Linked DNA regions of Homo sapiens: all the other regions are linked to region 4. The links are contacts of gene promoters, found by promoter capture Hi-C in blood cells and fetal thymus (Javierre and others, 2016). All regions are on one chromosome and are shown on one strand. The core of a region is centred on a gene start or on the middle of the fragment in contact, and the rest is flanking DNA. Distances in the headings are between cores, read along the strand shown. Region 1 holds the start of LOC124904449 (a long non-coding RNA gene). Region 2 overlaps ILDR2 (immunoglobulin like domain containing receptor 2). Region 3 has its middle 16 kb from the start of TADA1. Region 4 holds the start of CREG1 (cellular repressor of E1A stimulated genes 1). Region 5 overlaps POGK (pogo transposable element derived with KRAB domain). Region 6 overlaps ILDR2 (immunoglobulin like domain containing receptor 2). Region 7 overlaps TADA1 (transcriptional adaptor 1).

What was found. The method cuts DNA at HindIII sites, captures the fragments that hold promoters and counts their contacts. A CHiCAGO score of 5 or more calls a contact.
Region 1: a contact is called between a fragment that was not itself captured here and the fragment with the promoter of CREG1 in region 4, in 4 of 17 cell types (total B cells, activated CD4 T cells, total CD4 T cells and 1 more). The highest score is 8.2, in total B cells.
Region 2: a contact is called between a fragment that was not itself captured here and the fragment with the promoter of CREG1 in region 4, in 9 of 17 cell types (total CD4 T cells, fetal thymus, non-activated CD4 T cells and 6 more). The highest score is 11.7, in total CD4 T cells.
Region 3: a contact is called between a fragment that was not itself captured here and the fragment with the promoter of CREG1 in region 4, in 5 of 17 cell types (fetal thymus, total CD4 T cells, total B cells and 2 more). The highest score is 8.7, in fetal thymus.
Region 5: a contact is called between a fragment that was not itself captured here and the fragment with the promoter of CREG1 in region 4, in 1 of 17 cell types (fetal thymus). The highest score is 6.6, in fetal thymus.
Region 6: a contact is called between a fragment that was not itself captured here and the fragment with the promoter of CREG1 in region 4, in 1 of 17 cell types (fetal thymus). The highest score is 7.3, in fetal thymus.
Region 7: a fragment that was not itself captured here is called in contact with the fragment with the promoter of CREG1 in region 4 in 1 of 17 cell types (fetal thymus); the score reaches 5.6 in fetal thymus.

Annotation. Positions count from the first base shown.
Region 1 is chr1:166,924,962-166,928,785 of GRCh38, forward strand. ILDR2 (immunoglobulin like domain containing receptor 2) reads right to left here. Exons shown (of 10, transcript NM_199351.3): 7 at 2,106-2,219. LOC124904449 (a long non-coding RNA gene) reads left to right here and starts at 2,210. Exons shown (of 3, transcript XR_007066714.1): 1 at 2,210-2,646. RefSeq lists an enhancer at 244-403. The HindIII fragment of the contact is 1,052 bases long and covers 1,645-2,696 here.
Region 2 is chr1:166,907,513-166,911,202 of GRCh38, forward strand. ILDR2 (immunoglobulin like domain containing receptor 2) reads right to left here. Exons shown (of 10, transcript NM_199351.3): 10 at 675-3,690. Among named protein-coding and RNA genes, the nearest start is that of TADA1, 33 kb to the left of the region's middle. The HindIII fragment of the contact is 9,574 bases long and covers 1-3,690 here.
Region 3 is chr1:166,889,861-166,893,847 of GRCh38, forward strand. No RefSeq gene overlaps it. Among named protein-coding and RNA genes, the nearest start is that of TADA1, 16 kb to the left of the region's middle. The HindIII fragment of the contact is 6,086 bases long and covers 1-3,987 here.
Region 4 is chr1:167,551,303-167,555,132 of GRCh38, forward strand. CREG1 (cellular repressor of E1A stimulated genes 1) reads right to left here and starts at 2,460. Exons shown (of 4, transcript NM_003851.3): 1 at 2,086-2,460. The coding sequence starts at 2,439. RefSeq lists a silencer at 2,149-2,598. The HindIII fragment of the contact is 3,087 bases long and covers 1,353-3,830 here.
Region 5 is chr1:166,841,444-166,844,999 of GRCh38, forward strand. All of the region lies in intron 2 of POGK (pogo transposable element derived with KRAB domain), which reads left to right. Among named protein-coding and RNA genes, the nearest start is that of POGK, 3.7 kb to the left of the region's middle. The HindIII fragment of the contact is 449 bases long and covers 1,561-2,009 here.
Region 6 is chr1:166,941,707-166,945,725 of GRCh38, forward strand. All of the region lies in intron 3 of ILDR2 (immunoglobulin like domain containing receptor 2), which reads right to left. All of the region lies in intron 1 of LOC124904449 (a long non-coding RNA gene), which reads left to right. Among named protein-coding and RNA genes, the nearest start is that of ILDR2, 32 kb to the right of the region's middle. The HindIII fragment of the contact is 2,984 bases long and covers 1,275-4,019 here.
Region 7 is chr1:166,867,480-166,870,990 of GRCh38, forward strand. TADA1 (transcriptional adaptor 1) reads right to left here. Exons shown (of 8, transcript NM_053053.4): 2 at 2,284-2,375; 3 at 1,966-2,031. It also overlaps the pseudogene DUTP6. Among named protein-coding and RNA genes, the nearest start is that of TADA1, 7.0 kb to the right of the region's middle. The HindIII fragment of the contact is 801 bases long and covers 873-1,673 here.

The DNA of each region.
Region 1 (3,824 bases), core at 921-3,420, 630 kb before region 4:
GCTGTGTTTGCGCCACTGCACTCCAGCCTGGGTGACAGAGCAAGACCTTGTCTCAAAAAAAAAGGAAGTGAAATATATTTGGCCCAGGAGATATAGTTTGCTGAGCCCTATACTAGAACTTCCCAGACTAAAAACATCCCCTAAACAACCCCCACCATTTAGAAGGGCAAAGCAAATGAGGACCATACTGGCTAGCAAATTCATGAGCCTGGACCTCAAACTCAATTCTTACAGAATCTGTTACTCTCCTGCCCCAACCTGAAACCATGAGATCCATTTTATAATGAGATTTCAAGATTGCCCAGTTCCATGATCCAGCCCATGGTTTACTATGTTCTTCAGGAACAGGACTTCTCAAAGTAAACAGTATTCCTACTTTATCTCTATGCAGTTGTTATAATATTAACTTGCAGGTTCCAGGAGATCAGGGTTCCAGTTCTGGCACTGGCACTGAGTACTGGTGCTTGTTACTTTCCCTTTCTACCTTAGTGAAGGGGACGGATTCAACAACCTCAGAGTCCCTTCCAGCTCTGACATTCTAAAGTCCTACTAGCTAGAAGGCTGTGGTCTCTGAACAGAATGGAGCCATGGAGCCATCCACATTACAGCCATGGAGCCATCCACAGTTTGCCCAAGAGTTTCTTCTGGAAAGACCACAGGACTGGGAATCAGAAGAGCTGGAATCTGGTCCTAATTGTGTCACCGCATCCCTAGGCTTCTGTTTCCTCACCTGCACACTACAAAGGTTAACCTAGGCCATCTCTAAGACCCCCTTTGACTCTAAGAGTCCATTACCTTATGACCATTAAGCCCCTAGAGACCATTTTAATGAAGTAGAGAGACAGGAGACATCACCTAAACCAGAATTCTTCCTTTAGTTTTAACCTTAGCTGTTAACTTTTTCTCTGAGCTGTGAGATTCGCAAATTTCCTGCACAGACTCCTCTGTGGTCCCTGACTCACTCTGTCTCTGGCCCCTTACAGGGATCCATGACAACATTGTTACAACTAGCTTGTCAAGTGCAGTGACATCTGCATTCCTGACATTCCAATCTGGAAATGGTCTTTTTATAGTCGGTGTGGTGGGAGGATACAGCAATGGATACAACGCAGACAGGATGAATTTAGAATTGCAAACTGGGTGGAATATGTTGTCCTTAATCTGAATAAAGCTCTTCTAGTCTGGGACTGTTTCCCCAACAATTCCGTCAAGTCTCTCGTTAGTTCCAAGAAGAGGAGGGTAAAGAGACAGCATAATGACCTCACTTCCACACCCGCCAGCACCCTCTGATAATGAGCCTGTCCATGTGGGACCTGCCCTATGTTACCTCCCATGATACATAAGTTGGAATCCACCCCAAGAATCAGCTGTGTCAGCTGCAGAGTATCCAAGGGCTGGGGGTGAGTTAAGGGTTGGGGCCCGGCCACCTCAGACTTAGTATTCAAAAAGTTCTTTTGACAAGAGGATCAGCCTCTTTGCTTGCCCCTTAATCTCTGTTGTTTGGCATCTTCGAGGAGCAACAACCTTTTTTCCAGATTCACGTGCCAGACTTGTTCTTTCACTTTCAGGAGGCCTCCATGCAGCGAGTTGGTGGTTGTATTATCCAAGGCTAGCACCCTTCACGTTGGAAAAAACTGATACTTAAGCTTCCACATCTTAAGACATTACTTTGAATATATTTTAAAGGGAGTAGAAGGGAAAGACTATTTGGAATGCTTTATTAAAATAGTCTTTCCCTTCTACTCCTTTTAAAATATATTCAAAGAAAGTTGGTTCTTTATTCAAAGAAAGTTTGAATAAAATATATTCAAAGAATGTTGGTTCTATCCATGGGGCATGGATAACACAGCCCCAGAAATACTGACTGCCCCATGGAGAAAACCAACATAAACCAAGATGCTACCGAATTGCTCTACTCTTCACACCAGAAGACCTTTTTTTCCCCTCTGTGTACTGAGAGCTACTTTCTTCAGTAGTGTCACCAGCACCCCTGCTAATTCTAAGCCTGCAAGCTCAGGGCTGCCCAAGTTTGGTGACCCCCAAATCCCCTTTACACACTAACTCCTGCATAATGCACAGATCACAGAAAACTAACAGATGCTCACATCTGCCTCTCATCCTTCTGGCTGGATCAAACTGAGCCAGCTCCTTCTCAACATAGTACAGGACCTTCATGGAGTCTCTCTCTTTGTCAGCCTGGATCCGGTAACCTTTGCGAACTGTTGAGAAAAGCACAAGAAGGTGAGCTGAAAAAGGAAAATATCAGGAGAAGGAGGCCTCCATTTATTTTACCAAGTAGAAAATAGGGTTTCCAATTATAACAACTCTTTTTGAAATCACCCAGAAATAACGATCTATATTTATACATATGGGACCATATCTGTGATCCCCTTTATCAGATGGCGCCACTGGAATGGAGGACCTAAAGGTCAACAACAAAATTCCATTACAGTCTATTTTTAGTCATTTGTTAACTTCTGCTTCCTATCTTTTGACCTCTTACAGCTCCACTTAGTGCTCATCTTCTCAGCGCTTTTGCGTTCCATTGGAGGAGCATATTCACACTAAAAAAAGACCACTTTCTAGATTGAGGACATGCGTCACTCTAGCATCTGAGGATCCCACCTTCACTTTGTGAGAGCACAGGTAACTTACAGATACTCAAACATCAAGGGCCTTGACAAAGTTGGCCTGAAAGCTTTGAGTTGCCTAGGAGATAATGCAAAAGTTCCTTAAACTGAGTTGTGTATAAGAGCTAATATTAATTTCTAGACCATATACATAGTAGTACAAAACAAAATTCAAACTATGTGGATTTTTAATTATGGTTCCATTTCATTTCTTTAGCATTTTCCTTTTAGGAGAAGGAATACTGTGTTTTAGACATGATTAATTTGACCTGCTGCGATGTGGTTACAAGCAGCTGTTATTTTCAGGGCTTAATAAAAAACAAAACTAAAGCAGGAGAGAGAACATCTCCTACATCTCTATCACTCATATTGTCAGAGACAAAGGCTGTTTAAGCCCCATATCACTTAAGTATCAGTCTAGCCCAATACCAGCCCCAAGAGTGATAGATACCAGTGGGCCTAATTTACAGATAAGAGAAAGAGGAAAAAACGAAAGAGAGAAGGGAATGATGGGATGGGTACTGAAAAATAATGGTAATTAGTCAGTACTTACTGGGCACTGAAAATGTGCTAGGTACTGTGCTAAATGCTTTACATGGACATTTGTTCCTCAGAACCACCTAAAACAGTACTGTTATCAGCCACATTTTATGTTTGAGAAAATTTTGGGTCAGAGGGGTTTCATAACTTGCCCAGGAAAAATTTAGCAGTGCCAGGGCTGGAACCATGTAGTCTGATGGAAGCTTAACCATATTTGGGCATCTTGCCTCTCTAGAGTCTAAGAAGAGAGGTAGTGAGAAGAGACAGGTGAGAAAAACAAGGAAGGAAAGCCCAGAGTAAGAACTGCTTTAGCTATGCCATGGGTTGTATGGTCTGCACAGCATGGTCCTATATTCCAGCTATTAAGGACTTTTCAATGGGATGTAAGCTAGTGACCTAACTCCAGCATTCCCTGTTCCCAAAGTGGGGCAAACACCATAAAGAAACCATATGACTGCATGTAAATTCAGAGAAAACCCTGCTGTATAGTGTCTGGCCATGTTACCCTGGCTGCGGACAAAACCCTCCCACGCAAGCTATTTACATGGAAGATTAAAATATAAAATTCCATAGCACTCTAATTGTAGTCCAAGCACTAAAAACAGAAGTCACCCACACACCCATTTGCAGGTGCACCGATTTTCTATATGAGAA
Region 2 (3,690 bases), core at 1,148-3,647, 640 kb before region 4:
TCTCTTAATAAATGGAGTCTCCCCACTCCACAATCTGTTGCTCTAAATTTGCTAAAACATTTTCAATATTTTGTCTGAATTCCTGTATCAAATTCTGGAATCGAAAGAAAGTTTAGTATCATGGGTAATCAATAATCAGAGGAATGTGAGATATCGGTTGCTTGGAAGCAATTAAGTTTTTTTTAAGAAAATATATTTTAAAAGTTATATAATGTAATGTAAAAATTATACATATTTTGAGTGACATAGCCCTATTCTTCCATGACCAATGCTGTACATACATAAAGGCTACAAATTAAATGGGAGCTCACCAAAGAACAACCAACTCCCAAAATGCAGGGTTTCTGATAACCATGTTAGAGAAGGCCGCTTTGGTCTGAAGCTGAGATGCAAAGAAAGGACTCTGCCCAAGTCACATGTTCTCCTTCACATGAGAGAAGGAAGCACAGACGTGCTGGCCATCCCTGAGAACAGGAAGTGAAAGGTGTAGGACCAGAAAAGAGAATGTGGGGTGCGTAAACACTTACTTTACACTGGGAAATGTGGCATGATGAACTTCAGACACTCAAGGAATCCAAGTAGTTCTCCTTTCCTGTTTATACAGAAAGGAATGAAGAGGTGGATAGGTGTCTTAGTCACTTCAGGCTGCTGTAACAAAAATACCATAGACTAGGTGGCTTAAATATCAGAAATTTATTTCTCACAGTTCTAGAATCTGGGAAGTCCAAGCTCAGTGCACCAATACATTCAGTTCCTGGCGAAGGTCCTTTTCCTGGTTTGCAGACAGATACCTTGCTGTATCCTCACATGGCAGAGAAAGAGAGGAAGTAATCTCTCTCCTGTCTCTTCTTATAAGGACACTAATTCCATCATAAGAGCTCCACCCTACTGACCTAATCACCTCCCAAAGGCCTCATGCCCAAATACCATCACATTAGGATTAGGATTTTGACATAAAAATTTGGGGAAGACACAAAACACTCAGTCCATAGCAACAGAGAAGCAAAATGTCCCCTGTTCTATGGAACTTAGAGAGGAAGGGAGAAGCACCTTGCCCAGCATTAAGTATTTTTCTTGAAACTGTCTGGAACCTCTAACAAAAAAAGTAGAAGGTGAATAATTAGGAGACAACAGGAAGTAGGAGACAAGAAATGAGGGTACCAGAAGAATCCAGGGAGGAGACGAAAGGTCCTAATGAAGGCAGTGACACAGAGATGGATTTCTAAATTCAGAACGAGACAAGTATAACCAAGGACATTCACTGGTATATGGAAGGCTCTGGTAGGATTTGTCACTGAACTGTGGTAAAAACAGCCTCCCTGAAGCCTTGGGTTGGAATAATACGTGTGAGGGAATTGGCAACAAAAGGAAGCCGGAAAGGCTGGTTGTTCAGGGCTCTGTGGCTGCAGATAAAGAATCTTTTCGGATGCAGTAGCAGATAGCTGTTGGTGTTGTGTATGTGTTTTGTCTGCCCAGCATCACTATTCTCACTTCTTCTATTAATAACAACTCTCTTCTCTCTTTGGAGAAATCTTCCTATCCCACTATCCAGTCCATCGCAGTCTCACCTTCCTGGTCATAAACAGACTTGCCACATCTCTGGCCACATGATTAGCTCAGATATGGGCACATGACTCAATATGAGTTGACTGCAGTCTTTCTCCAGGATTGTTCTCATGAGTAAAGCCTTTTGCCTGCTTGGTCAAATGAGCTGGAAAGTTGTGACTCTCAGACTGCTAGTGGCTATATTCCTGCCTTTTGGAGTAAGTCTATCCTCACTGAGAAAATGTATTGATGTAAAAACACAAGTAGGTGTGGATGATGGACAGGGAATCTTAAATCTTACTACATTGAGACCCAGGTTTGTTCTCAGTTCCTACAGCTCTTCCAGCCTGTGAGCTACTCCAGGATCTCTCTAATAGATGAGCTCCATTTCTCCTTTTCTTGTTCTTAAGCTAGTCTGAGCTATCTTCCTGTCATTTGCAACCAAAAATTTTTTTACTAATACAGCTGCCAAAGGAATGAAACATAAGAGGCTATCGCCTTGGCCTGAGGGAATGAGAAAAGCTAGGTGCCTAAGTCATACCAGCAACAAAAAGAGGCTGGGAGGGTGGGGTTGTATATTAATGTCCATTATAATTTAACTACATTCAGTTGAACAAAGCGTTTTTCCAAAAACAAGGTTAATAGAAATTGACATATATATGTGTGTGTGTATACATACATATATATATATATATATATATAAATATATATAAATATATATATTTATATATATATATATATATATATATCCTTCTAGCTTTGCTCTACTGGACATTAACGTCTCAGAGAAAGAAAAAGAGCCAGAAAAAATCCACTGTGGCTATGCTTCTACACAAAATTTGTAACAAAATGTGAGAAAATATCTCCAGAGAGCAAGGATTGTTTTAAAAAAAAGTAAAGTGTTTTAACATGTCTGGAATTTTCTCCTCTGCTTGGTTTTTAGAGACAGTGAGAGAGAGAACAAGAGACAGAGAGATTGATTCATCTTTGTACAGCTGAAGACTAGGGAATGGACTATTTAGGTCCTTTGGTTGTACAGTTTGATGACACGGTTTTTGCTTGTTAAAGAGAAACTGGCTTCACCATAATTCTGCAGAATCAGAGTCCTGACCTGACTTCAGAAAACAATTGTAATTCCATGGTGTTAAAAGCACACTTTAAAATAGCTTTAAATCACAAAAGGCATGCACCTAAATCCCACTTGATCCCAAGCAAAAACCTCATGGTTTTCCCCACATTATATCCACAGAAGCCTGCCTCAAAAACATAATATGGCAAGTTCTAAACTTGCAAAGTGTAAGAAAAACATATCACTTTTAAAGAAAAAATTCCTAATGCACTTAATTTGTTTTTCAAAAGCCAAATTCATCTATATAAATTCATATATAGCATTAAAATAAGCTATATAAATTCATATGTAGCTTTTCCCTTAAGTAATGTGAGGCACACCTCCATCCAATACTGGAAGGTTAGCAATAGAGTCACTCTCTTGGATGTGTGCCACTAGATGGCGTGTCAGACCAACTCACTCACCTCTAAGCAACTTCCTAGCTACTTCTACACCTCATGCCATTTTTGGTGAGTCATCTTAGGCCACCTGATAAGTATTCAGGAAATGCTTATAACCAATTCAGCAGAAAATATAATTTTCACCTAAGTGGTGTGATGAGTATGATTAGGATGTCTCTGCCAAGATTTTCTAAGAGAACCTGAAATTAGCCTACTTCTTATTTCTTGAAATGAAAGCATATAAAAATTGGATTAGAATTAGATAATCATAGGGAAAAATGAATTATTTGTTTTGCCTAATTTTAATCCATCCTATGAGTCTAGTCCTTCCTTGCTGCTTCTTTTTTTTCTTGTCTTTTTAAATTTTTACCTTTTTGTGGAGGATGGGATCTCACTATACTGCCCAGGTAGGTCTTGAACTCCTGGCTCAAGCTATCCTCCCACCTTTGTCTCCCTAACTGTTGGGATTTCAGGTGTGAGCCACAGGGCCCGGCCTTCCTTGCCTCTTGAATGAAATCTACATCCATAATTTATTTGGCCACTCTTAACAATTAACAGCCTTCTGTTCACTCTTAAACCCTAAAACAGTCTATGTCTATAATTAAGACAGCCATTCTCTTATATTATCAAACTCTA
Region 3 (3,987 bases), core at 592-3,091, 660 kb before region 4:
TAATCCCTCTGGCAGAAATTTACACAATAGATATAGTTGCAAATGTTTAGCAAAATATATGTACAAGAATATTTATTGCTACATTGTTTTGCCACAGCAAAAGACTGGAAACACCCAGTATTCATAAGTGGGGGCAAGTTAACTAAATAACAGTAAACCTGTATGATGGAATAAGGATGCCTCTGTGAAAAGACTGAGGTAGTTCTGTGACCTCAAGAGTCAAAAGAACAAGTTGCAGTACCACATGTAACATTTTTATAAGAACAGACAGATACATATATGGTGTGAACATATGCATTAAAAGAGTTTTTAGAATAAATTACAAAATTAGTTATCTGTGGTATGGAGACTGGTATGAAGACAAGGAAAAAACCTTTTACTTTCATTTTGTATCTTTGGCTCATCAAATTTTTCATCTTAAAGGGAGCCAAGCTATGAGGATGCAAAGGCATAAGAATGATACAATGGATTTTGGGGACTTGGGAATGGGAAGTGGGGGAGGTGGGTGACGGATAAAAGATCATACATTGGGTACAGTGTATACTGTCAGGGTGATGGGTGCAGCAAAATCTCAGAAAACCCCACTAAAGAACTTATTTATGTAACCAAACACCACCTGCTCCCCAAAAACCTATTGAAATAAAAATTTCTTTTTTTCATCTGATACATGTTTCATGTATGACATTTAAAAGAACTATTAGCAGGGGTTTCCTTTACTTCCCTCAACTGCAATGCCCAAAGATATATTTTACATTCAGTTTTTTCTATATGTATATAAGAAAGATGCAAATATGTATCTTTGAATATGCATAATTATCATCTCTGTTGTTAAAAAATGGGGATTATATATAGTTCTGAAATTTGCTTTTCCAAATTTTTATATTATTCACATCTTTCCATTTAAGGACATACTGCATAAAATTTTACAGTAAGAATATGCTGTAACTTATTTACCCATTCTTATATTATAATGTTATTTCTATTTTTTTGGCCTTTACAATTAATTCTGCAATGACCATAATTTTACATAATTAATTTTTGTATGCATGTATTTTTGTAGGACTGATTCCCTAAAGTGGAATTCTAAGTAAAAGCAGAGACGACTGAGGCACAGGAGGTCACAAGAAACCTCCTGCATGCAGGTCATTTAAAATATCTGCTATTATCATGTCTCTTAACCTTCCATTGGACAACACGAGTCATGGAGGTGGTGAATTACACTCTGCCCACAATGTAGCAACGGCAAGGACAGAGACAGAAGGAAGATTTAGGGATATATAATAGAGTTTGCCACATTGCCAGGATGTGTGTATTTTTGGTTTTGTCTTTTTCTTTAATGACATAAATTTCTTGAGCAGCTGCTGCCAGTGTCCCACTTATATCCCCCTCACATTCACCTCTATAAGCCAATGCTGTCACCATGAATATCCAAAAGTTCTGCCTGAGGACTTTTCTTCAGCCCGGCAAAAAAGGATAAGCCAGAAGTTCTGGAGAGTCATGCCCTCAGAAGCAGTTCTCAACTGAAGATGGGCAAGGAGTTGAGGAATAACTAGTCCAGATTCCTCACCTCTCAACTCAGGTGAAGGAGACATTCCTATATAGCCTCCCACATTCACCCATCTGGATTGAGCTCCAGTTGCAGGAAATGATAACTGCCTTAACGATGTATTCTTTATTGACGTCCTTCCTTTCCCTGTCTCACTTTCCCAATAAACTCTCTACAATAAACTACTTTCCTCAAATCCTTATTTCAGGGTATGCCTTTTGGGGAACACGAACCAAGACTGTCTTACTCCAAATATTCATAAATTAATCCCTTGTGTGTTAAGAGTTTGGTGTAAAGATATGTAGAACATATCTATGGATTCTAATTTAGTATATCAATATTAAAGTACAAAATCAAGAGCTTTTTTAAAAATCCTAGATAATTCTTATATATTAGACCTATTTTTTGATATGACATTAAATTCAGAGTCTTTACCTCACAATGACTGTTACTTCTTATTTTCCCACTAAATTCTAACAAGTGAACTCTGAGAAATGCTCAGAAAAAGTGAATCAAATATAAGATGATTCTTCTTCAAAGAAAAATATAAAATTCACTCTACCTTCCTGCCTAGCTTCATCTTTATGAACTCTATGTCCAGGCTCACTTTCACTTTTTGTCAGTTATTTTCCAGGAATACAAATTTATTCTTATGCTATTACTATTATTATTATTATTATTATTATCATTTTTGAGATGGAGTCTCGCTCTGTCACCCAGGCTGGAGTGCAATGGCGTGATCTGGGCTCACTGCAACCTCTGCCTCCCAGGTTCAAGTGATTCTCCTGCCTCAGGCTCCTGAGTAGCTGGGATTACAGGCATGCACCACCATGCCTGGCTAATTTTTGTATTTTTAGTAGAGATGTTGGTCAGGCTGGCCTCAAACTCCTGACCTCAGGTGATCCACCGCCTTGGCCTCCCAAATTGCTGGGATTACAGGCATGAGCCACTGTGCCCAGCCTATTATTTTTGACTAGAAGCATGCTTAACAATTTAATCTCTTATCACAGGGTCTCTGTGACACTCAGAGTCTAGCTAATAAAGGGAAACTATTACTATTCCTAGGGCAAAAGGGACAAAGAGAAGAGTGTTACTCATGAGAATTGAATTATGGAAGATATATCACTCCTCTAGATGTCTCTGCTTTCATCAGAGAGATGACATCAGGACAGATGTAGTGGATTAAATTGTGGCCCCCAAAAGATATGTCCAAGTCCTTACCCTTGGTACCTGTAAATTTCACCTTATTTGGAAATAGGGTCTTTGCAATTGTATTTAAGGATTTCAAGATGAGATCATCCTGGATTTTGGATGGGCTTAACGGGTCCTCCTGCATTTAGGGTGGACACCAACTACTTGTGTCCTTATAAGAGAAAGGAGGAGATTTGAGACACAGAAAGATACAAGGTGAAAAGTCATGTGAACATAAAGGCAGAGATTGGAGTAATGTGTCTACAAACCACGGAATGCCAAGGATTGCCAGCAGCCATGAGAAGCTAGGGAAGAGGTGTGCGAGGGATGTTCTCTAAGAGCCTTCAAGAGGAGCTAGCCCTGTTGGCACCTTGATTTTGGACTTCTGGTCTCCAAAACTGTGAGAGAATAAATTTCAGTTACTTTAAGCTACCCAGTTCACGGCAATTTGTTATGACAGTCCCAGGAAACTAGTATGGCAGGGAAGGAATGGAGAAGAAATACCCTGGCCTCTCTCTCCTCCTGCCCACTGATCTCCTTCCAGTACTTTCCACTGGCCAAACTGAAATGGCAAGGAAGCACAAAAGAGGCAGTCTGCAGAGCACAGCATGCAGTAGATCTAGAGAGGAGCAACTGAAAATCCCAGCACCATAATGAAATAAAAATTACTGTAAACAATAACTATTTTAAACAAGGTAATAAATGAAAGCATACAAGAGACAGCTGCTGAATTGCTTCACCTAGACAACCAAGGCTAAAAATAATTCATTTGCTGTGGGGCTTTGTTAAATCACAAAAGTAAAAGAGAGCATTAAGATCATCCAACCCAAGTGCTTTCTCATTCCGTTCATCAAGAACAGGCTTGCAGAGATTGGTGACTTGTGCACCTTCAGTCAGTAGGTAAGGGAAGGAGTTGGGCCTGAAACAAGATCCGCCCAAATCTCCATCAGTTTCCCCATGGCTGATATGTTATTTTCCTCATCTACAGAGATTTCTGTCCACCAAGAACTCCATCATAGTGTTTTTACATTCTCCATTTTTATGCTGTTTACAGAAACAGAAACTGTCCTTTTCAGATGGGGTCTCAAGCGCAGCCCAACATACCACAGGAAGAAATTGCCCCATCTTCCCTGGAGAAAATGCCACTTGTAGCATCAGGCACCACTGATTTCCTGCAGAACTGTACTATGAAGTGTCCAGAGGTATGGCTGGAGTCAGCATGCTTTAGGACAGCTAGCTAGCTGTCCACA
Region 4 (3,830 bases), core at 1,210-3,709:
AGCACCCTGGAGGTCAGGAGGAGGAAAAGAAAAAAGCAGAAACTTTGACCTGCTAATTGATGGAATCAAGTCAGACAAATTCTAATGTGGCCACTTCTTTTCACTGCCATCATGGAAACCTAAAGCCCTGGGTAGGTTCCTTGCCACTGCCCTGTCTATTTCTAGAAACATGAAAGACCTGGGCTAATGTCCTACCTGACAGCCATTAGCTGACTGGTCACAGGGTAAGTCCCTGCACCTCTGAGTCTGTGTTTCCTCACTTCCTAAATGGGGACAATAATACCAGCAACTCCCTAGTCACCTCACAAATTTAAATATGATTATGTATTGGTCAATCTCCCTCCTCCCCCATTAGAATCATCAGGGAGTGGTTTGTGGGGAGGCGGGAAGGGGTGTTGTCTTAAAATAAAATGTGCTTTCAATAAAATACCTTGGCATCCCATTTTTAAAGCCTTCTTAGGTGACTATGATTTGCAGTCAAAGTTGAGCACCACTGATGGAGTGGAGTGAGTTTGTTTTGAGCAAACGCCTAAAGGTGTGGAATGGGCTGGGAATAAGAAAATGGTGAACTGGGGTGTATCTGCCTTAGCTAAAAGAGGGCACTGCTTCTGTTTTTGCTCAAAGAGTGCAGGCCCACAGTGTCACTGGATCTTCCCATTTTTCAAGAAAAGTTAGAGATTTACATTTTAAAGTAAAATCTAAATTTTAAAATGTTGGTAACAAATTCAAATTTATTAAAAACAAAACAGAACTTTGTGTAGGCCAAACCGGTCTGTGGGACATATTCAGCTGATGGGCCACCAGCCTGTGATAGGTGGTTTGAAGAAAGATGAACCTGAGATGAAACTAGGGGTTTGCCCGCTGGCTTTAAACAAGTTACTTAACCTAGGTAGGCCTCAAGTTCTTCATCTGCAGAATGGGGTATATAATACCTACTTCAAAGAATTAATAGAAGAGACAACGAATGGAAGGCAAATGGAAAAGTGATTAATCAAGCATCAGTTTCTTGCATCCTGTCTTTATCAACAATGTTGTACTTTCAGAGTTGAACTCAAATGTGAGAGCTTTGTCAAAAAGACCCTCCATCAAATCAGGCTCCATTCCTGGACTCTGTGTGTCTCCGGCCTCCCAAGCTGGGTGTCTGTGACCCCATCCCTGAGACAGCAGAGATCCATCAGAGTTGTAAGTGTGGCCCTGCACCAGAAGGTGGGCAAAGGGCGAGGAAGAGATACACCTTCAATCAGCTCTGCATCTTACTGAGGAGCCACTATGCCTGTGGAGGCCTAAAGACTGCAGTAATCATTGTAATCGTCCATGATATTGTACGTTAGCGTCTTGCTGCAGGAGGGAAAAGCTTAATTCAGGAAGGGTAAGAGAGTGAGAAACCCTGAAGTCACATATTAAAGTGCTTAAGTACCTAACAATCTCTATGCCCTGTAAAACCTTTAAGAATAGGAGCCCAGGCAGGGCGCGGTGGTTCACGCCTGTAATCCCAGCACTTTGGGAGGCTGAGATGGGTGGATCACGTGAGGTCAGGAGTTTGAGACCAGCCTGGCCAACATGGTGAAACCCCGCCTCTACTAAAAATACAAAAATTAGCCGGGTGTGGTGGCACGCACCTGTAATCCCAGCTACTCGGTAGGCTGAGGCACGAGAATCGCTTGAACCTGGGAGGCAGAGGTTGCAGTAAGCTGAGATAGCGCCACTGCACTCCAGCCTGGGCCACAAAGTGAGATTCTGTCTCAAAGGGAAAAAAAAAAAAAAAGAGAATAGGAGCACAGTTAATAGAGACACTGGGCCCCAAGACGACTGAGAACCACTCACGGATGAGAAGTCCTCGGGCTGCTGGCAGAGAATTTACCCCAGGTGCGTGGCCCAGTGGCGGAGGCTTGTGGGAAATTCCTGGTACCCAGCTGCCCAACATCTGGGACGCTGCAACGCCCACCTACCTGCCTGCGCGGCAGAGAAGCAACAGCCGTTCGAGCCACGCTCCACTTCCCGGGAAGAATTCTGGGGAGAGTGAAGGCTCGCTCTGTGGCCGCCCCGCCCACAGCCCGCCTGGGGAAGCCGCGGGCCCCAGCTCACCTGCAGGTTGCTCACGGAGAGCTGCAGCGGGCTCAGGTAGAAATAGGGCACGCCGCTGCCCGCGCCCGGGGGCCCGTCGCTGAGCGAGAGGACGTCGGCGAAGGGCCGGCCGCGCACCGCCTCCAGCGTGGAGATGGTGGCCAGAGCGCCCCAGTCGGAGACGTGCGTCACGAAGCGGGCCACGCGCGCCGCGTCCTCGCGGGGTGGTAGCGGCGGCAGCCGGGAGGCCTCGTCCCAGTCCCCGTGGTCCCGGCCGCCGCGACCCCGCGCGGGCGACACGAGCAGCGCCAACAGCGTCGACGCCAGCAGGGCGGCGAGCAGTGCGCGCGCGGACCCGCGGGATAGCCCGGCCATGGCGGTGTCTCCAGGAAGAGTCCCGGGCCCCAAGACCTGCAGGGACCCAGCCGGAGCTCGGCGCGCCCAGGCCCCGCCCCCTCCGCGAGGCGCCAATCAGAGCTAAGCACAATGCAGGGGGCGGGGTCCCTCTGCAGCTCCGCAACCTGCAGGAGAAGGGATTGGTTCATCTGCATTCCAATCGCTCTGCCTGCCCTCTTTAAGGATTGTGAATTTGTCCTAAACGGGATATTTGTTTTGTTTTGTTTGACAGGCGGAAAAAGAAAGGCTTGAAGAAATCAAGCAACTTGCCCAAATCGTACTGCTAGGAAAAGACCAGCCTCTTTACACAGGCACACACCCCCTCCTTTTAATACCTTTGGAGATGAATATCTGGCATCTGAGAGGAAATGCTGCATTTTCTACCCATGCGCCTCTTTTCTGTTGAATTTACCATCAGCTCCAAAGAACAGCGAGGGTCCCAGCGTTGTAGAAGCCCAGACTCAGGCTCGTGTACCCCATGTGTAGCTGATGCCAAACACTGACATATAGGTGCTTGGAGATAAAAGTTTATTCGATTTGGCCAAAGCGAGAAGGCGGGAGGGCAAGATCTCTCAAATCCGCCCTAACAAAAAGAAGAAGCAGAGAGTGTTTATGCGGCCAGCGAGTCAGGGAGGGGGAGTTTCAGGGAATCGAGGGAAAAAGTCTGTGTTTCTTCAGTCTCAGATAATTCCTTGAACAATCAGACTTCTGGGCGACAGAAGCTGGCCTCAAAGTACTTCAAAGGACTTATTCCTCCTGCAAACTTTTTCGTAACCCTGAAGTTATTATCTCCTCCTGCTTGATAAAGAAACAGTACATCAGCAGTTTATGATTATGTTGTAGGAACAAGGGATATTGGGCAAAAAGAGAGTTGTCAACATGTGCAAGCAAGGGCCTGATCAGAATTTTCATTATTTCAGTCACTAACAAATGCTGGGGTGCTGAAATCTCAAGGGGCCCACTTACACTAGTAGTAAAGTTAGGCAGAAGCCCGAAAGTTCAAGACCTTTAAAAAACTTTTTATTTACTTATTTTAAAATTTTTAATTTTTGTGGGTACATAGTAGGTGTATACATTTATGGGGTACATGAGATATTTTGCTACAGGCATACAATGCATAATAGTCATATCAGGGTAAATGGGGTATCCATTGCCTCAAGCATTTATCCTTTGTGTTACAAACAATCCAATTATACTTTTAGTTATTTTAAATGTACACTTAAATTATTATTGGCTATAGTCACCCTGTTGTGCTATGAAATACTAGGTCTTATTCTAACTATTTTTTGTACCCATTAACCATCCCCACTCCTCCCCTGCAAGTCCCCCCACTACCCTTCCTGGCCTCTGGTAACCATCCCTCTACTCTC
Region 5 (3,556 bases), core at 535-3,034, 710 kb before region 4:
ATAAGACTCGAGTCATTGGGTTGACATGAGAGGTTAGGCTAGTTGGTTCTGTGTGAGCACCTCTTACCACAGTTGACACAGGAGAGCTGCCTGTCCAGCTGACCTGGATAGAAATGGTGGGCAGCAGGGAATACAGAGATTCAGGGTATACACGCAGAATAGTATGATAGAGGTCGGTTTATACAAATGCAAATGCAGTAGATACTTATAGTTACAGATAGTTATTCACCGTAGTTACTGGACTTCGTGGTAATTAGGCATGAATAGTAAACATTTTAAATAAGCAACAAATTGACATTCCTTTTCTCTGCTTATTTTCCGTTGTGTATAAACATTGTCAGTATACATAGTATCCTTTGCTTCCATGAAGAGCCCCTATCCATACAAGCATGGTACTTCTAAATTGTTCCCTACCAGAGGAGAGAACTGGGATGCAGAAAGATTATCTGCCTTGCCCTAAGGTTACACATGAACACTGACATTTGTTCTTCAAAACAGGTCTCCTGAGCTGCACCCTTAAAAGTAATGCATTTTACCATATGTATGCTATACCTTAATTTAAAAAAAAAAAAAACAGTGCAACCACAGGCTCTCAGTTTGCCAGTCTAGCTGTGGACACCGCGCTGCCTTTGTCTCATCAGTGTTCTTTGCCCACCACATCCTTCTTCCCAATTCTGATCCAAGCAGGCGTCAGGTCTATTTAGCCTGGAACAAGAACTCAAGGCAGTCAAAACTCAGGGCTTTGAGGCTAGATTGGTCAACCCAGAACATCTAAATGGAGAGCCTTGGAGAACAGGTGCAATGAAAGTGAATGTTGGGACAGTGAGGAAGGAGCAAGATGAAGACCAACCATGCTTAGGTGGGAAAAGAAGGAAGTAACCAGAAGGGCTGGAGGAGGGAGTCCAGCAGCTGGTGGTGCTGGGGATTGGGCATTTGTGGCCTCCAGGCAATCAGCCATCCATCCACAGTTACCAAGCACAGTGCTGGGCGTAAAGAGAGACTCTTTTCCTGATGGAATTTCCAGTCTTGTGAGCAAGGCAGGAAAGTAAACATAAGTAATAGTAAGCACAGTGTGCAGAGTGCAGTGGTGGAAGTCTGCAAGGATGCACCAGGAGCCAAGATGAGGGGATGCCTCATTCAGGCTGAGAACTCCGGGGCTTCCTGGACAAGGCCTAATCTTGAGCAGTGAGCAATTTTGCCCCCACCCCTGGACATTTGGCAACATCTAGAAACACTACCCCCTTTCCCCACCCCTGGATATTTGGCAATATCTGGAAACACTTTTGTTGGTCTGACTTGGTGGGGGTGCGTTGGGGACTGGGAGATCCTCCTGGCATCTAGTGGATAGAAGCCAGGGGAGCTGCTAGATATCTACAGTGCACAGGATGCCCCCCCACCACCACACACACACACACATACACACACAACAAAGAGGTAACTGGCCCAAAATGTCAGTTGTGCTGAGGTTGAGAAACCCTGCTCTAGAGCATTAGAAGAAAAGAATCTGTTTTTAAAATATGTATTTTGGTTATAGAGAATTATGTTAGGGTGATCAGTGAAAGCTTTTCAAGCATAAGAACTATGATAATATATTAGGATAAAATTCCATAGAATTGAAATAGAAATACAATTTTAAGTAGAAAAAATAAAAAATGTGCTTTGAACTGAGTCTTAGTCATTATGGAATCAGCCAAGGGAAGGGAAGGGGGTTGCATTCCAGGCAAGAGGACAGCACAGGCAAAAGCACTGAGGAGAGGAGCTTGGGTGCAGAGTTAGGAGCAGCTCCTGCAGCTGGAACCTGAAACTCATGGCAGGGAGTGGAAGGGGATCAGGTATAGGAGGCCAGGCCAGGGGCCAGAGCCAGCCAGGAGGACATGCAGTGCTACGCCAGCGAGTTTGAGCTTTCTCCTTAGCTCTGTGGAATGAGGCCTTAGCCCATCTTTCTAAGGGAGGCCTCAGGCTCTCTACAGCCACCATGCTAAGGCCTGAGTGGCCTGCTAAGAAAGCAAAGCTTTGGCATCAGACTTTCTAGCTCTGTGACCTTGGACAAGTTACTTAACCACTCTGTTTCCTTACCCATAAAAGTGAGGTAGTGATCCCCATGTCCCTAGTTTAGCGGATTCAGTGAGAGAATATATTTATATGATTGAGTGTCCTATACAGTGCTTGGCCCATAGCAGGCACTCCATCAGTGGATCAGTACAAACTACCCCAACCCCTTCCCCCGAGATCCCTGCGTCTTTGCTGGGTGGCTGCAAGGCTTTAGCGAGGCTGTGCAAGGTGTAAGCACTTTACAACATTTACCCTTTGAGATAGCATTGGAATGCCAACTTCCTGAGCAGAGCAAGGCAGTGCACACAAGCTAGAGGAAGAACACTTATCCAGTGAGCCCTTGATCTTCTGAGGAAAGGGAGGAGGGCAGGGACTGAAGGTCCCTACCTGCAAGGCCAAGGAGGGGTGTCTGGAGGTGGTACACAGACTGCCTGACTTCTCAGTTTTGCCCGGGGCCGGCCCTGTTTACCTTCTGCTATGTTGAGCCAGATAAAAGGCCTCTGTGGAGCGAGGGGAGGCCTGCGCAGCAGGGCCTGGCTGAAGGATCGCTCCATTCTCACAGAGGCTTGCTGTGAGGAGAATGTCTAAGCCACTACACTGTGCCTCTGGAGCATAATGTGGGCTTGTTTGAAGATCCTCCGTGGCTCAGTCATTAATAGGAAGAGATGAATCCTGCACCAGCCCCCAGCTTTCTTCCTGCAGCTTCAGGGCTCCTGGTACCTGATGTTTTTACCAGGCCTAGAATATGTTACCCCCCCTAAGAGTATTGATGGCCCCTCTGAAATGACAGGCATAGACAGTCCTGTTCCCATTTTATCAGCAAAGGGAAAGGGACTATAAATAGGTATGACCTAGATCTGGAACTTCCCAGGGAGAAAAAAAGGCCAAAGAGACAGTTCTTTAAAAGCCTGGGAATTGGGAAAGGAGTAGGGTGGAAAATTCCTGGGCTGACTGGCTTTCCAGGGTGAGGAAGTCTGAGGAAAGCCTGAAGACGAATCCATTTTACCTCCTCATATTTCACACTTAGGGATGTTTGTCCATTCTTACTCCAAAGAGTAGGTTTGGTTTTATGACAGATAAAATTTAATGATTCTTTGAAACAGTTCCAAGTAGAACAAGAGAAGGGAAATCCAGAGATTTGCCTAGATCGTATATTCAAAAGCACATTTTTCAGTGACTACTAGCTACAGGAAGTGTCCTCGGCTTAGGGAAGCAAAAAGGAGTAAGTACAGGTCCTGCTTTCAACAAGCTCAGATTCTAGTGGAGGGAGCAGACAAGTCAACCAAAAGAATTCTGCAGTGTGATGAGTGCCCCGGGAGTGTGGAGCCCAGGACATTTCAGGGACATGTGGGTGTGCTCACAGCGTGGCACAGAGTGGGCTTCCTCGGGAGCAGGGATTTTGGGCTGAGTCCTGGAAGATGGGTGGGTGTCAGCCAGACCAAGAAAGGGGAGGCCCTCCAAGGCCAGGGGAGAATATGGGCCAAGGTGTGGGGGCGTTGGGGAA
Region 6 (4,019 bases), core at 1,517-4,016, 610 kb before region 4:
ATATCTTGGTGTATCTTGTAAAATCAGAAACTTTGCTAGTGTTTACTCTCCACTTCTCAAGATTACCAATGTTTTAAACATCTCTGGATATGCTATGATCCAAATCATTACTTAAATTCATGATAGAAATGTCACTGATGATATAAGCTACCAATTCGTGGGCTCCTATAGCAAACCGTGATAATTAATTAACTATAAAAATCCATACATTCAAGGAGGATGTGGTGCTTATACATATTATATAGAGCATGTTATATCGGAAAAAGCAGTGAACTGGGAGTCAGAATACTCAGGGCAACTTTATCATTACTTCACTTGGTGATTACTACAGGCAAATTACTTTCCCTTTCAGGGTCTCAGTTTTTTCATTAGTAAAATGAAGGGGTTGAATGGAGTAGTCTACAAACAGAAAGACCATCTATCTTGGTTTGTCTAGGACAGTTGTGGATTATGCCTATGGTCCAGGTGTAATTTTTAATAGCACCCCTTTTTACTCTCAAAGTATTCTAGTTTGGACAATTAATTATGTGGTCACTCTATATCACTTTTAGTTCCCAAATCTGATACTCAGTGATTGGAGTTAAAAACTCAAATGTCTATGGGCACCAGCAGGTAATGCAAATGAGTGCAGCTGGCCAGATATAATATAACAGGGAGTAGCTAGAGATGTCATCAGGAGGCTGCTACTAGTCACCTCTAGCCACTTGTGGCCCCATAGAAATGTGTCTTCAGGGTTTCAGATCATCCTATTTTTCAATATTTTCCAGGCCCCAGATTTTATGTGAAATAACTTGATTTTCAAATGTTGGCAACCAGTTCATTATTTTTAAAACACTGGGTGAGCCATACACAGTATGTCTGCAGGCTGCATAGAGCCCAGAAATCATGAGTTTGCAACCTCTGAAGGGTATACACACACAGATAAATTTATGGGATGGTAAAACACAAAGCTGCATTTCCCCACAGGCTGTTTAGGTTACCTTGATGGTGTTCTAACATTACTTCCACACACAGAATAACAGTAAATACAAGATCTAGTCACCTATGTTCAAATTAAAATTGGAAACAATAGTATTATGCACGAAATTGCTAGCCCTTCTTATTTCTAGGGAGCTAGAATGAGCAGCATGGAAGAACAATGAAGGAACTTGCATTTTTTTACTTTAGACTTTTTTACTTTTGTAATGGAAAAAATTAAAATAAGGAAAGGGTGTATCAGACATATGGACAGGTGATTCACAAAGCTTTTCACTCCAACAGGAAGACATACATCAAGCTTCTCATTCTCCCTGAAGCAACAGTCAATATCTGATGCTTCAGAAGGTGAAGCCTTCCCATAATGCACCTGTGTAGTGTTAGCCACAGGGTAGTGTAGGTGATATGTGCAGTAAAGTGGGTGAAATTAAATATCTTCAGAATTCAAAACATAGTAGGAGTTTTGGGAGAGCAGACAATACCAATATATCATGTCAACAGCAGAGACGGTGCAAAGCTCTATAGCTTTGGCCGGGCACGGTGGCTCACGCCTGTAATCCCAGCACTTTGGGAGGCAGAGGCGGGCGGATCATGAGTTCAGGAGATCGATACCATCCTGGCTAACACAGTGAAACCCCGTCTCTACTAAAAATACAAAAAATTAGCTGGGCGTGGTGGCGGGCGCCTGTAGTCCCAGCTACTCGGGAGGCTGAGGCAGGAGAATGGCGTAAACCCGGGAGGCGGAGCTTGCAGTGAGCCGAGATTGCACCACTGCACTCCAGCCTGGGCGACAGAGCGAGACTCCGTCTCAAAAAAAAAAAAAAAAAAAAAAAAAGGCTCTATAGCTTTTACACCATTACTTATATTTTATTGGAGCTAAAGGCATTTTAAAAAGTGGATTTATGCTGAATATTTATGCTGAATATTTCTGAAAATATTCCACTTCCAGCTTCTTCCCTAACAATTCCTAAGAAATGTTATTGCTAGTTAGAAATGCTTTATCTTTTCTTCTATCATATCCAATGAAGGCCTGATCTTACAGAGTCTAAACAATTGCAGTAAATACATTCCAGATTTCAGCAGCACTTTACCAACACTTGTGAATCGCTGTCATTCTTCCAGGATTCAGTTTAAGAGTGGCAATTACAAGTCACTTTAATGTCTGAGGAAAGGATGGAAAGCAAGCCCTGCAAATAGAAGGCCACATTTACTCTTTTCAAACCACAGCTCAAACTATCAGAGGAAAATACAGTTTTTATGTAAGCGCTCAAACAGTTTTCCCCAAATCTTGCAGAATCCATTACTTTTAAGAAATTTCCACATGAATAGACCAAACGAATCAGGCATACTAATACTTTGTACATGCACACACACAAGTGCCAGTTCCATATCATACTGTCACAAACTCTAGAGCTAAACACATTCACACGCTTCGGATTAAATGATCAGGGTAGAAATATGCATTGTGAATAAAATAACTTACCTATCTTACCTATAAAATTCCCCATTTCAGTTGTTTTCTGCCACTGCCACTTTTGAAGTTATCCTCAACTGAACTCTTTGTACACATTCCTGCAAACCAGCTCACTGTTGGAATGTCTCTCATTTATTCATTCATCATTCATTCATTCAACAAAGAAATTTATATTTAGCTAGGTGGAGACACAGGGGACAAGATGTGTTCCCTTGAGACACTTGAGAGGCTCACAGTCTAGCCCACACAGAACTCAGCTTTAGTTATGTGCTTCTGTGCCACAAGAACTATTAAATCTTCCCGCCAAATTAGTTTTCATCAGCCCTCTTTGCATTTTTGACATCAGGTTCTGCCTGGTCATGGGGCCTTTCCCTGGAGACCTAGTCCTTGCCTGGTTTCCCACTTCTACTCAGAACATTGTCTTTGCACATTTCACAACAAATTATGTCCTAGTGGCATTTCCCCAAGTTTTTTTACACCTTTTTCTTGGTAGGTTAGCCCCCTCAAAGCAAACTTGATTTACTTTCTTTGCTCAGATAAGCATTTCAGTTGCTTTGTTCAATTCCTTACCACAAAGACCACAAGACTGAGATATGTTCTGACACAGCCCTGTAAGAATGCTGCACTAAGAAGGTGCTTCCTCCTCCATGCTCCCTAGGACCACTGCACATGCCTTCACTAAAGCAGTTATCTCGTGGCTGCAATGTGCCTTTACTTTTACGAGTGCCTCCACTACCAAGATGGAAACCCCTCCAGAGCAGGGACTATGCTCTACGCTTGGCATCTCCAGAAGCCCAGCGTGAGGAGGCACCTCACCCACCCATCAGGAACTTGAAGTGTTTCCAATAGCAAATCCCCTTGTTCAATATGCAGGGTTTCTAGCTGGACTTATGATTTGCTGCGCATTATAGTGACTTTATCAACCTCAGGTGGAAGTAGGCTTTTAATGAAAATATGAAAGAACTATTCATTTATTCATGCAGCATTATTCTATATACTGCACAATGTTTAACACTTCTGAACTCAGGGAAGAATGCCAGGAGCATTCTCCAGTCATTGGAATATCCCCAAATGCCATCTTGCTATCTAAGGAGACAAAAGCACCACCCTATCCCACACCAAAAAGTTGAATAGACCAAACGAATCAGGCATACTAATACTTTGTACATGCACACACACAAGTGCCAGTTTCATATCATACTGTCACAAACTCTAGAGCTAAACACATTCACACGCTTTGGATTAAATGATCAGGGTAGAAATATGCATTGTGAATAAAATAACTTACCTATCTTACCTATAAAATTCCCCATTTCAGTTGTTTTCTGCCACTGCCACTTTTGAAGTTATCCTAGGGTATTTTTGAGGAAGTCATTACAGAGATAAAATAACACATAAAACTTTCAGCCAAAAAGACTGTTTTGGTCTCTACTCTTAAAACTTAAATCCAAGCTCTAATCATTTCCAAGCCTTCAAAGTTACAATGGAAGGTAAAGAAGTTCAGGATTTAGGACAAACCTGTTTTCAGAACCTGCTTACTCAATCACTTGATAACACATTGTTTAATGCA
Region 7 (3,511 bases), core at 23-2,522, 690 kb before region 4:
ACTGCTCTCTAAAACAACCCCACAAGCAGGTGCTCACAGTTTACTACACATTAACAACGACTTCTTTGAGGGTCAAAGAACGAGGTGTTAGGAGATCTTATGTGAATTTTTTTTTTTTTTTTTTAAACACAGTTTCACTCTGTCGCCCAGGCTGAAGTGCCGTGGCACAATGTAACCTCTACCTCCCAGGTTCAAGCGATTCTCATGCCTCAGCCTCCTGAGTAGCTGGGACTACAGATGTGCGCCACCACGCCCGGCTAATTTTCTTTTTTGTATTATTAGTAGAGTAGGGGTTTCACCATGTTGGCCGGGCTGGTCTCGAACTCCTGACCTCAAGTGACCCGCCCGCCTCAGCCTCCCAAAGTGCTGGGAATACAGGCGTGAGCCACCACGCCCTGGCTTGAGTTCTTTATCATACAGTAGAAGTAAACAGAGAGAGAGGATTAAAAAATACCAGCCATTTATAGATAAAACATGAGCTTTCGATATATGATCATCAGAATCACCCTAAGCCCTTAAAAAAATTTCAATTTAATCTACAACAGGAGTTGGTAAGCACAATTGTAATGGTAACTTTTGTAGTCTTATGAATAGATATAAATTGCAATTTAGAAATATAAAAACTACTGAATAAATCATTTGGCCTAATTTTTTTTAAAAAGTCCAGTATGACTTTTATCATGAGGAAAGTTTTCAATGTATTTAATTACTTGTTTTTGACTGATTAAAATAAGATGGTTGAGAGAGGTGACTTACAGCTTAATCTTCTCTTCAGGTTAAAGTGACAGGTTTCGTTTCCACCTACCCCCTCAACATGCTACTATCCCCTACCTCTTGTTATCTACCAATAATCTGTGAAACACAGGTGCTGAAGCTTGACCTTTCAGGTGCTATCTTACCTAAGAACATAGTGGAAGTCCAGGTTCCCAACATATGCTGGGTTCCCCCACCTCCCCACTACGGACACCTTTCAAGTTAGGTATCCCTTAGGTACAGGACACCTAACACCAACTGCCCTCTCTTCATCTCCCTTACCTTCTTCATCCTGATCTCCCACCCTCTTCCTCACTTCTCATTTACTTAAGTAATCTAAAATGTAGCTGAGTGGGGACTCAATATCAAAAGGTAATATAAGTACAGGGACATAACCTGCTTTACAAGGCTCCGTAGATTTGGGCAGTCCCTGCTGTGGTGCTCACCCTGCGCCCTCTTGTTCCCGGGCTATCTCCTTGCTTGCCTTCTGGCTCTCTCAAGCCCTATTCTGAGGGACACCACTATTTCCCCCATTGAGCAAACTGGCCTGCGGGGGAGGGTGGCACACAGAGCAGCCTTGCCCAGCTCTCCCAGCATAACACGCCCGGACCAAGGGGTCCACGGGGGCTAGGACTTGGACATGCCTAGGATTACACAATACCACCTAGGGAGAAAGCACTTGTGAAAACAAACATTCAGACAGTCCTTCCTTCTGGGTGTTAGAAAAGAGTAGTGCCACATCTGGCTTGGCTGAAAAACACTTTACTGATGTAGGAGCTGGCATCATAAGATGAAGATTATAGAGGAAGTGTTGGTGTTGTACAATTCAATTTTGGCAAAGAAAAGTTTGGTGTCAAAAATGGTGATCAAATTGCATAGCTCATTTGTGAACAGACTTTTTCTCCAGAAACAGAAATTCAAGCTTTGGATGACACTGAAAGGGGTTCAGGAGGTTTGGGTTCCACTGGAAAGAATTAAAATGTATGCCAAGAACTGAAAATGAGAAATCATACCTTTTTCTTAAAAATAAAGAGTTTCTGCTTTAAAAAAAAAAAAAGATTCTGTAAAAGAATTTGTATCTACCTAATAAAACTTTTCTTCTGAGTAGTTCAAAAACATCTGCTTTACAAACACTAGCTGTGTCTATTAGAGAAAGCTAAAGTCTAGTGCTTTGCTGACTTACACACACTGGAAGTATTTCCACTCCCTTACCTGGTGTAGAAACCAAAATCTGACAACGCGTGAGAATGGCCAGGAGGAAATCATTGTGAGAATGGACTGAAAAAGGAAAGATAGTGACAATCAAATTCAAAACATTTTCAACATAAGGAAACCACAACTTTGGTCTAGCTTCTCAAGATTTTGGATATCCCCTATTCTGCCATGCTTTATACTTAAAGTATCCACATTATTAAGATAACCTTATACACCACAAAACCAAAATTTTACTTTTTAAAAAGGGAAAAGACTTTACTACAAATCTAGGAAAACTACAGAATAGTAAAATAACTCTGCAGATAATTATTTTACCATTATCCTGTGTGAGAAGTCTATGAGCTTCAAGGTCAAACTCCTCTTTGCTGATCTTCTGCTTGAACCACAGCTTTAGGTTAGCCCAGTATCTGCAGAGGCAGAAACAATACTAAGAACCACAGATTTGGCTGCTTCTAGTTTTTTTTGTTTGTTTTGTTTTTTTAAAGAGACGGGGTTTTTTATTCTGTCACTCAGGCTGGAGTGCAGGGGAACAATCAGAGCTCTGAACTTCTGGCTTTAAGCTACCCTCCCACCTCAGCCCCCTGAGTAGCTGGGACTACAGCATGAACACATTTTGCTTCTTCCCCAAGTTCAGCATACATGCTCCAACTCCGAGGAAAGGAAATTTTGCATTCCCTGGCTCTATGGGCTGAATTGTGTCCCCCCACAAAAGTCCTGTGTTAAAGCCTTAACCCTAGTACTTCAGAATATGACTCTATTTGGAGATTGGGCCTTTAAATAGTAATTAAGATGAGGCCATTAGGGTGGGCCCTAATCCAGTATGATTGGTGTCCTTATAAGAAGAGGCAATTAGGACACAGATACATTCACAAAGAAATAACCATGTGAACACACAACAAGAAGGCTGTCATCTATAGGAGAGAGGCCTCTTGCCAACATCTTGATCACAGACTTCCAGCCTTCAGAACTGTGAGAAAATAAATTTCTGTTGTTTAAGCGAACCAGTCTGTGGTACTTTGTTATGGCAGCCCTAGCAAACTAATACACCTAGGAATCAGAATACCAACAAAGAAAGGAAAATCCTCCCTAAAAGGGGACTCGCCGGTACGGTGGCTCATGCCTGTAGTCCCAGCACTTTGGGAGGTCAAGGCAGGCAGACCGCTTGAACCCAGGAGTTCGAGATTAGCCTGGGCAACATGGCAGGACCTCCCTCTCTACAAAAAATACAAAACTTAGCTGTGCATGTTGGTGCATGCCTGTAGTCCCTGCTACCTGGGAGGCTGAAGTGGAGGGACTGATTGAGCCCAGGAGGTCAGGGCTGCGGCGAGCCATGATCACACCACTACACTCCAGCCTGGGTGACAGAGCAAGACCTTGTCTCAAAACAAATAAAAGGGAATTGGCAGGTAGTCACAGAATTGGACTCATGATTCACTTAGCCCAAAACTATTATAGCTATACCCTTGTTTCTCACTGTCACCTTTCTAATAGACCTACTCTCCAGAATCCTGCATTTAAGATTTATATTTTAAACTGTGTGTGT